Linked DNA regions of Homo sapiens: region 1 is linked to region 2. The links are contacts of gene promoters, found by promoter capture Hi-C in blood cells and fetal thymus (Javierre and others, 2016). All regions are on one chromosome and are shown on one strand. The core of a region is centred on a gene start or on the middle of the fragment in contact, and the rest is flanking DNA. Distances in the headings are between cores, read along the strand shown. Region 1 overlaps NABP1 (nucleic acid binding protein 1). Region 2 holds the start of STAT1 (signal transducer and activator of transcription 1).

Evidence for each region. Contacts are between HindIII fragments. The CHiCAGO score rates a contact against its expected background, and 5 or more counts as called.
Region 1: a contact is called between a fragment that was not itself captured here and the fragment with the promoter of STAT1 in region 2, in 1 of 17 cell types (neutrophils). The highest score is 5.1, in neutrophils.

What each region holds. Positions count from the first base shown.
Region 1 is chr2:191,682,558-191,687,784 of GRCh38, reverse strand. NABP1 (nucleic acid binding protein 1) reads right to left here. Exons shown (of 6, transcript NM_001031716.5): 4 at 3,981-4,056; 5 at 3,489-3,555; 6 at 842-2,186. The coding sequence ends at 2,017. It overlaps LOC124900605 (a long non-coding RNA gene), which reads right to left and starts at 499. Exons shown (of 3, transcript XR_007088697.1): 1 at 1-499. The HindIII fragment of the contact is 6,591 bases long and covers 1-5,227 here.
Region 2 is chr2:191,012,782-191,018,103 of GRCh38, reverse strand. It overlaps STAT1 (signal transducer and activator of transcription 1), which reads left to right and starts at 3,933. Exons shown (of 25, transcript NM_007315.4): 1 at 3,933-4,086; 2 at 4,426-4,579. RefSeq lists enhancers at 2,513-2,562, 3,341-3,420, 3,451-3,650, 4,261-4,580 and silencers at 3,701-3,940, 3,971-4,170. The HindIII fragment of the contact is 15,587 bases long and covers 1-5,191 here.

The sequences.
Region 1 (5,227 bases), core at 1,608-4,107, 670 kb before region 2:
TCAGAAGTCATTATAATTACTTACATGGAAATCTTAAACAAGTCTAGAAAGGATACTGTTACTTACTTGTTTTCATACTTGTGGAACCTAAGGCTTAAAGACATTTCAAGTGTAATAACTCATCCAACATCACAGGTGAGGAGACAATGAGGCCAGGATTGGAAGCCCAGCATTCCATACCTGACAGCATTTAAATTTTCTAAAATTCCAAATTTTTTTCTTTTAAAATCACCTTTAATGCTGTATTCTCCCACAAATAATTTAAAGTGTTGCTCCTATCTTACTTATATAAAACAATCATATACTAATTTGTAGGGTTTTTAAAAATTCTAAACATCTACAATTTTATGAAACATACTCTCTATCCCAGTCCTTAGACAACTTCTTTTGAGGTATTCTATAATGTGAAAATCTTAAGAAAACATTAATCACAAACAAAGCCAAATTATAATCATGAATATGCATATGAACAAAGGAAAAAAATTTCTATAATTTTTGTAACCCCAGTTACAAAAGTACTATAGACCACAAATAAACTTGTGGAGATTATTCGGTATTTTGTCTACCCCTTAACACTTTCCACACAGTGCCTAATACATAGTGTGTACTGAAATATTTGTTAAACACAGTGAATTAGGGCAAACAATCTGGCACAACTTTTTGTATTCAAATGCTATGGAGTTTTCAGAAAACAAAATCTACTTATTTTGTGATTTGAAGTGGAAAAAAAACAAAGCAACAAATGCAGAGCTAAGTAACCATGAGGTTGATACCATCACTACAACAGTAGTTAAGATGTACTGGCTCTCCACTGTAAGTCATTGAAAGGGCAAAAATTACGTAGGTTTGTTAACATTAACACATGCTTTATTCAAGAGATAATATTCAAAGAGTTAAATCCTAAGAGTTATCCACCCTACAGTAAAAAGGGGAAGTGGGTACCACTTATGACATGTACATAAATTCCACTTTTATATTTCTGAATAAAGCTGCAATTGCTTCTTTGATAGAGCCATTTCTTAAAACTTTTGCTAATAAGGCTATGTGAACTGTGTTCAGAAACTTTGACAACATGCACACTCACTCCTCTCAAAGTCAGTACCCAGGATTTTCACTCCAGGCTGAGTACCTATTAAGTAACTAGGACTTCAGACTGCATGTTACTATATGAATTCAATTTGACTCACCTCCAGTATGTTTATCTACCACAACTATTGTTTAAAATAATCAGATGAATGTTTATCATAACTTTATAACTCCCCCAAATTATACTTCAGTATTTAACATGGTAGTTTCAAAAAATAAATATTCAAGGCCCCAGTTTTAAATTTTCCTCCAATGTAATCCACAAAGTTGATAATACATGTTAGGAGCACTACTCTAAAATAAATGTAGCTTTCTTTTAAAATTACTTGTTGCAATAGAGATCACATTCTATTCCAAATTCTGATAAGGAATCTGTTTTTTTGGTAATACAACAAAAATTTGGGATGAGTCAGTCCTTGGAAAATCTTAATAGTAGTCACTGAACGAAGTCAATCATTCCGAGAGCCACAAACACTCAAAAATTACTGCTAGCATTGACAAGTTCTTGTGTTTTTTGATGGTTATTGCTTTAGTTGGCAATATCTGAATACAAGACAAAAGAACATCTCCCATTAAGCCTTATGTTAAATATTACAAAACTTATACAGAAGATAGACTCATAGAGGCTATAAAGCTGATGTCTTAAGTAACTCACCCATGAAATGGGTGCAGGTTTTTTAAAGGCTATCCAATAATCTTTTTACTCTAAAAATAAATGCCCCTACTTTTCAGTGTTCCCATTCTTCAACAGGAGACTCGAGCAGCTTAACAGTTTTGCTATAAAAACAAACCATTCTTCTTAACAAACCAAGAATATAAAAGGAAACCCAATAAAGGACGTACTTTTCACAGTTAACAATAAATAAAAGTGCAATAAGTGTTCAAGTAGGGCATGTAGTATAAAAACTACACATGAGTATTTAGCATAGGTCATCTTTTAAAGGCTCTCCGAGGGTCCCTGCCATTACTTATTGTGGTCATCACTGTTTGATTACTAGCTGTTCCTTGTAGTTGTGGATTTATAAGTCCCCGGCCATTGCTTCTGCCAGCATGTGAAAACTGGTGTTCCCTTGATTCAGGGCCAGTGTGAACACCATTTCCTAAAAAAGAATACAAAAATTCATCACTATTTTCAGAGGTAGTCTATAGAAGTAGAACTATCTTAAGTGCCAACATGTTATTAATGCTTAAAAATATTAAAGCACACACTTTTATTTTTATACAGAAAAAAAAAACAATGTGGGCTCTAAGTTTTTCCAAATGTATTGCTATAAATATGCTAACTTGATGCTGTATTAATAGAGAGAAAAAAGCCAACTTGGGCATCAAAATTAGAAATTAATAGAGTAAAAAAATGCATTGCCTACACTATAAAAGAAAAAGAAAGGGCAAAATAGTGAATATTGGAATTTGGCTCAAATATGATTAATATCTCAAAACAGACAATGTTATTCTAACTTTTTAAAGGCAAAGGCAGCGTTTCCCACAATGTGATCAGCAATGCCAAGACATGTAGCCTTCGAGTCAAATAAAACATGAGCTGGCCAGGTTCAGTGGCTCACGCCTGTATGTAATCCCAGCACTTTAGGACGCCGAGGCAGGTGGATCATTTGAGGTCAGGAGTTCGAGACTAGCCTGGCCCATATGGTGAAATCCCATCTCTATTAAAAATATAAAAATTAGCTGGGTGGTAGTGGTGCACATCTGTAATCCCAGCTACTTGGGAGGCTGAGGCAGGAGAATCACTTGAGCCTGCGAGGTGGAGGTTGCGATGAGCCAAGATCACGCCACTGCACTCCAGTCTGGGCAACAGCGTAAGACCCTGTCTCAAAAACAAAACAAAACCAAAACATGAGCCATCCTAATGAACTCTAATCACAAAAGACTGACTTTTCCTCATATATTTAAGAAAAAAGACTTCAGAAGACCTTTAACAGAGCTACAAGGATCATGAACATGATGTCTGGGGGTCATGTTAAATGACATCTGAGGGTCACTAGCCTTTAAACGGCTCAGCTCATCTTTTAAAGCAGCAGCTACTTGTATGTGAAAAATTAAGGTGAACTATGACTCTAAAGATAAAACGCTTTCAGTGCACCAAAATAACCAGTAATTCTGCATCTACTATAAGTAATCACTAGATTATAGAAATTTTATAGGAATCAATAAAAAAAAAATAGCATGGTATCTCTTCACGGACATCACAAAAACTTAGAATTCTCAATAAACTGGCTTAAGTTTATCAACTTTCTAGAAAATCAGCCCTTTGGGGATTCCCTGTTTACTGGTAGTTCACCTTTATCACTAATTTATGCCTAAAGACGTTGCTTTTCACGTGAATCTTTACAGCTCTCTTCATTCTTATACCTGATCACAAATGAAACACACAAACAAAATCTTACCCACTGGTCCAAATGTACCTGTACCCATATTACTATTCATGGAATTATTCTTCTGTTCACTCTGTGCCTAAAAAAAAGTTTTTAATTTAACCAAACGAGAATAAAAACACAATTATATTATTACAACATTATTATATCCTTTCTTTTTTAAAGTTTTGGGTTTGGCTTTTTTTTTTTTTTTAATTAACAAATTTTTTAAAGATTTTTCCTAGGTCATTAAAGGTTATAATGTTAAGAAACGTTTCCCAAACCTTTCAGAGCTCTGTTACATCCTATTTCCTGATAATTACTCAGCACACCACAAAGTGCAAAATGGCACATATATCTAGTAGATGACACCTCAGATACATATCCTCACAAAACATACAATAAAAATTAAGTATCCTTTTAAAAATTATCTTCTTTATACTAAGTATCAACAGGGCTAGCCTAATCATAGAATTATAACACAGTCAAAATTAGCCTAATCATAAAAGTATACTACACAATTACCCCTTTGTTCTGCTGTCCTCGATAATCTGGGTTGGGTTCACTGAAATTTGGCACTTCTGAATAAACCATACAAAATCTGAAAGAAAATAAAGAAAAAATTAAATGACTTCTGAAATAAAGTCCTCAACCCTTCTTTATGTAACATCTCTAACTTTTAGGAATGAACTTATGTGTCAAACAAATTAATAGCAACAAACTAACTCTTCATTTACAACAAAAACTTCCCAAATGATTATGTCCCATAAAACATCAAATATTTGACTGTCTACAAGATATATAACATTCTATTTTGTATTTAAATTCTTCTTTAGTGCTGAAAAAAAAATCACATCAAAAATCAAGGACACAAAAACATCTCTGTCCTGTTTTTCCACAAAAGCTGATCAAAGGAAAAATAACATGAGAGTGAACCATGTTTAGGGTTCCAGGGTGGTTTCTCCAGCAGTGGTAATGGATTTGCACCGATCCATTCACCCACTCCCATTCAGTCCCTCTTTTGATCGATCACTGTGGATCTGCAAAGATAATCATTTAGGGTTAAGAGTGGTTTCTAGGCAATAAATAATAACAACAGGCTACATAGCCACCAGTTTATCCAAGTGCTTCCTGTAAGTTGACCATATAATGTGTACTAACATTACAAAGAAGCATTTTATTACTCCTCACCATACTGAAGACAAATCAGAACCAGTTTTGGTAAATCCTCGACTGACCCTGACAAAGAGCAGTCATTAAGAAATGAGTGACCTCTAACGGTTTTTCACGTAACTGACCTCCATTATTATCAACACCTCTGTATGAATACATGAAGGTCAGGACAGAATCCTGAACCTTTCAGTAACAGACACTAAGACCTTTCATAACACATAACTCTATTAATGCTACTCTAAGTGAATCCTAACTTCCCTTCTAACAAAGGCAAAGCGTTAAGTGTTTCTGATCTTTAAAAGCTAGCATGATCATTTCTTTTCCTTCATTATTAACCACAGGTTCTCCAAATAAGCATCTTATTCCCTCAGTGGCAAACAGTTTTCCTTTTTTATCTGGTGCCATTTGTGGCTTCTCTTTTTAAATATCTTCCAATTTGACAGGCATTAAGTAGATGGCAGAGCATTAACCAAACAGAATGGACTGATGATTTGGCTCATTGCCTGTACCATACTTTATGAATACAACCCAATGTCTAGGCTAACATGGAGGCTGAATTACCTTACACCCCTAGAGAGGATGGCTCCTCCAGGTCAGGG
Region 2 (5,322 bases), core at 2,684-5,183:
ATACAAGTAGTTGCATTTATTGTTTTAAATGTTGTCCAGTTGATGGGAGGCTGAGGGAGGAGAATCGTTTGAACCTAGGAGGGGGAGGTTGCAGTGAGCCAAGATCGCGCCACTGCACTCCAGCCTGGGCGACAGAGTGACACTTGGTCTCAAAAAAAAAAAAAGTTATCCAGTTGAGGCCAGGCACAGTGGTTGACACCTGTAATCCCAGCACTTTGGGAGGTCAAGGCAGACAGATCACCTGAGGCCGGGAGTGTGAGACCAGTCTGGCCAACATGGCAAAACCCTGACTCTACTAAAAATACAAAAAATTTGACGGGTTTGGTGATGTAGGCCTATAATCCCAGCTACTTGGGAGGCTAAAGAATGAGAATCGCTTGAACTCAGGAGGCGGTGGTTGCAGTGAGCCGAGATTGCACCAATGCACTCCAGCCTGGGCGACAGAGCGAGACTCTGTCATCAATACATACATACATACATATATACATACATACATAGTATCCAGTTGGTTTCAGACCAGCAGCAGTCCGTTAGAATATTTAGATTATTTAGAATTTTGATTTAGCGTGGGAACCTGAGGCATGCTGTCTCCTAGCAGAGGGAAGGAGCACACAAGAACAAGTTGATTACAAAGAACACGCAGTTTCAGGACAGATGGTATATACATCACAACTGTTCATATTCCTTTATCCAGAACAAGTCACATAGCCAAGGTCAGAGTTACAGCACACAGAGAGGTATACTCCACCCTTAGTGAACCATGGCAAGCAGTGGGAAGGGACAGAAGAGATTTGAAAATAGTACAATCTACAGACATAGTGTTAGCTGTTTTTTCTAGTTTTGTGTCTTTTGCAAATCTGACATTGTTGATATATAGATATAGCTTTCCAAGCTGACTGTTATAAGGCAACCGTCACACATTTGTATCTGTCAAATTCTGGATTTCTAGGTTTTTGTTTGGCTTTGGTTTGATTGCTTTTTGAAGCAGTCAATATGTTATACAGTAAGAAAATATAAATAGTTTATCCTTCAGGAATATTGAATCTTGGAGGCATAAGGATTGGACACTTCAAAAACCATAATATTAGAGAGTGTATAGTTATTGTCCAAATAAATAGAGACACATATATTATTTGGTCATTCAGAGACCCCAGATTAATTGCTACAGGTTGAGGTGGTTCTAGAAAGAGAATATAGTATTTGGGCTGGGCTTTAACAGGTGAATAAGAATTTGGTAAGTGAAGAGAGTGAGGAGCAAGACTTGCCATTCAGTATGTACAAAGGGGCAGAAATCAGGAAATTAAAAGCATGGGGGGAGTGCTGGAGCTAGACGAGGTTAGTTGGGAAATGCGACAATGATAGAAAAGGCTGGAAAGAAGGAAAGAAACATTTTGTGGAGGATCCAGACTAGCAGACAACATTTGTGTTTATCATATGTGCAAGGAGAGTTGTTAAGGCTTTTGAGCAGGGAATGACTATATCAATGCAGTATTTTAAGGAATTGAATTTGGCAAATATAGTGAAGGAGAAAGAGACAAGAAAAAGGTAGTATACCTAGAGATTAGCATAGCATTCCAATTCTCAAGTGATGAAGGCTTATGGTAGGTATTGCTGTGGATGCTAAAATAAAGGGGGGTAGGGAAGGAAGCATCCACAGATCTTGATGATCCAAATTGGGATTTGGAGTGCCAAATAATCCTATTTGCAGATGTTAGGATTATTCCATTCCTTCATCAATATTGAAGCTAATATCTGTGCAAGTTTTATAGTACCAGAAAAAAAATTTTTAACATGTAATCTACCCTTCCTAGAGTCAACTTTTGATATAGTTTGGCTGTGTCCCCACCCAAATCTCATCTTGAATGATAACTCCCACAATTCCCACCTGTCATGGGAGGAAACTGGTGGGAGGTGATTAAATTATGGGGGCGAGACTTTCCTGCGCTGTTTTTGTGATAGTGAATGAGTCTCGAGGATCCGATCATTTTAAAAATGGGAGTTTCCCTGCACAAGCTCTTTGCCTGCCGCCATCAATGAAAGATGTGACTTGTTCCTCCTTGCCTCCCGCCATGATTGTGAGGCCTCCCCAGCCATGTGGAACTGTAAGTCCATTAAACCTCTTTATTTTGTAAATTGCCCAGTCTCAGGTCTTTATTAGCAGCGTTAAAAATGGATTAATACAGCTTTTTTCAGAGAACAGTAAAACATTGTCTTGGTTCTTGGGTGAGTAAGAGCAGAAGGGACACTTTTGGTGCCGTGGCATCTCTTGGCAGAGAAGTCTAATTTCACTGCTAACTTGCTTTGTGAGGGTGCATTTGTGACAAGAAGAACAAATAGATGTGCAAAGAAAAAAAACTCATACACACACATATAGGCATATCCATGGGAAATTATTCAGATCCTTCTCCTACCCCAAAGTGCCTAATTATTCAAGGCTTGACTCAAATCCCGTCTACTTGAAGGAACTAATTGATTTTATGAGCATATAGTCCAAAAAGATTTAGTTTGTCTGGCTTCAGCAATGCCTACCTGGAGAAGTGACATTTAAGCTGAGATTTTTAAACTAAGATCTAAAAGATGAGTTAGCCAGCGAAGAGTTGGGTGAAGCAGATGTTGGCTCAAGGGGTTTTCCAAACTCAGGGTGAGAAGTCCCTGAGTTTGGAGAGTGTGGTTTATTTGAAGAACTAAATGCTGAAGTAAGCAAAGCAGAGTGGCACATTATGGGGTTGGACAAAGAGATCGGGCAACCAGGGCTTTATAGTATGTATTAAGAAACTGAATTTTATAAGAGCAAAGAAAAGCCATGGAAGGATTTTCAGGTTGGCAAATGACATGATCTGCTTTTCAATTAAAAAAAAAAACACTCAAACTCTTGTATGGAGAATGGATTAAAAGGTAGATAAGGGCTGAAGTGAGGCAGCCATTCGGGAATCTACTGCAGAAGGAGGCAGCAGAAGAGATGGAGCAGAGTAAATGAGACTTGGGAAATATTTAGGAGGAAGAATCAATTAAGATTTGAGGATCAGGTGTTGCGAGGTGAGGGAGAAGGCAATGTCAACTATGAATCCTAGGTATCTGTCATGTGCCATTTCTAGAAAAAGAGCAGGTTTGAGGAGAAAGATGTTTGGTTCTGAACATAGTTTGTAGAGCTCACTGCACATACAAGTGGAGAGGCAAGTGGGAGTTGTAGGTGTGAAGCCCAGAGGAGAGGTGTGGACGGGATAAGCATTTAAGACTCCTCCATCTAGAAGGAAACTGAAGCTGTGGGTGAGGTCATCACAGCACAGCGTTTAGGAGAAGCCCAGGTAAAGAAGCTGACGAATGTCTGGACCCTGACAACCTTAACATATAATGGTTTGATAGTGGAGGTGGAGGCAATGTAGAAAGAATGCCAGAGGCAGGAAAAAGCAAGAAGGATGTGTTATCATCATGACCAAGGAAGAAACGTGTTTCAAGAACAAAGGCGTCAACTCTGCCCCATGCTTCCGAGCTGTCAAGTAAAGTGAGAAAAACAGAAAAGCGTTCCCTGGGTTTAGCAACACGGAGGTCAGTTGCTAAAGGGAGCTTCTAGAATGACGACGTCGCCAAATCTGTCCTCTGCCTGGATTCTCGGCGATGAAACTACTACAGAGACCTCCAAGTTTGGGCTTCTGCAAACACAGCACGTCCTTCTGATCGTTCTCTAAGATATGTAAACAGAACGCCAGTTCCCAGCGTGGCAACACGGGACTGGGCTGCAGCTCACCCAGCCGGCGGCCCCCGCCGGAAGCCGGCGGAAATACCCCAGCGCGTGGGCGGAGCAGCGGCCCGCAGAGGGAGGCGGTGGCGCCCACGGAACAGCCGCGTCTAATTGGCTGAGCGCGGAGCCGCCCGGTGATTGGTGGGGGCGGAAGGGGGCCGGGCGCCAGCGCTGCCTTTTCTCCTGCCGGGTAGTTTCGCTTTCCTGCGCAGAGTCTGCGGAGGGGCTCGGCTGCACCGGGGGGATCGCGCCTGGCAGACCCCAGACCGAGCAGAGGCGACCCAGCGCGCTCGGGAGAGGCTGCACCGCCGCGCCCCCGCCTAGCCCTTCCGGATCCTGCGCGCAGAGTGAGTGGCCGTGAGGTTCCGGGTGCCGGGGGTGGGACGCGCAGGGACAGAGTCCTCGGGCCGTGCAGTTGGACGCCGGGCGAGGACGGGCCGTCTGTGCTGACCCGCGAATAGTGATCCCAGAGGAAGAACGCGTCCTGAGTATTCCAAGTGCGAGCAGTGCCACCTGTTCTCGGAGATGGCACTGCTCAGCACGATTGTCCTTGCCAGTCGTGCTCTGGCAGTGAAGAGGACTTGTGAAATATAATTTTCCTCTAGAAGGCACTGCACCTTCCCATTTACCGTCACTTTCTCCCGTTTCCACCCCTTTCCATCAGTCACGTTTTCTTCTTTTCGCAGAAAGTTTCATTTGCTGTATGCCATCCTCGAGAGCTGTCTAGGTTAACGTTCGCACTCTGTGTATATAACCTCGACAGTCTTGGCACCTAACGTGCTGTGCGTAGCTGCTCCTTTGGTTGAATCCCCAGGCCCTTGTTGGGGCACAAGGTGGCAGGTCAGTAAATGTTCATGGAATCAGATGAATGAGTACATGACTTCGGAATCTTAATTATGTTTCTATGTTCAAAGATGGAAGGGCTTAATGTCTTCCTAGAGTTTAAAAGTGATGTTTAGTTTTTGCAGACCCCCCACCCCAAAATAATATAGTCTTAAAAAAATTTCTGGCCGGTACTGAAGAGTTCTGTGGTAGGTATGCAGAGGTGTGGTTGATTGTGCTTTGAATGTTGTTTGTATAGATAAGGAGTTATTTTCATAGAACAGAAACAGGACTTGAGCCTCCAGCACAGTCCATTGTGCAACCATTGCTTAATGAGGATGCTGGACTCACACTTGTGAGATCATAATATGGTTTGCTTTTTACTTTCTAATTCCGTCTGAAATATACATAATTTCAATTCAACAAACTGTTTCGAGCACATAGTATATGCAGGGCACTGTCCAAGGTCCATAAGATGTTAAAAAGCAAAATACCCCACTACTCTACCCCCTCCCCACCCACCTTCCCCCGCCGGGGACTCTGGAGGCATCACAGAGCTTTACAAGGAAAACTGGAACCGATGCTCTAATAGAGGTACAGAATTCAGTGAGACGCAAGTCAAAGAAAGCTTAATTGTGAGTAAGTCTCAGACAACTTTATGAAAGAAGGGGCTTTTGTACATAGCTTTGAATGCTATAGGATTTAGAGACGCAAAAATTTGTGGAGAGGCTGTTTCCAAGGGCGAGTAGCTGGAGCAAAGC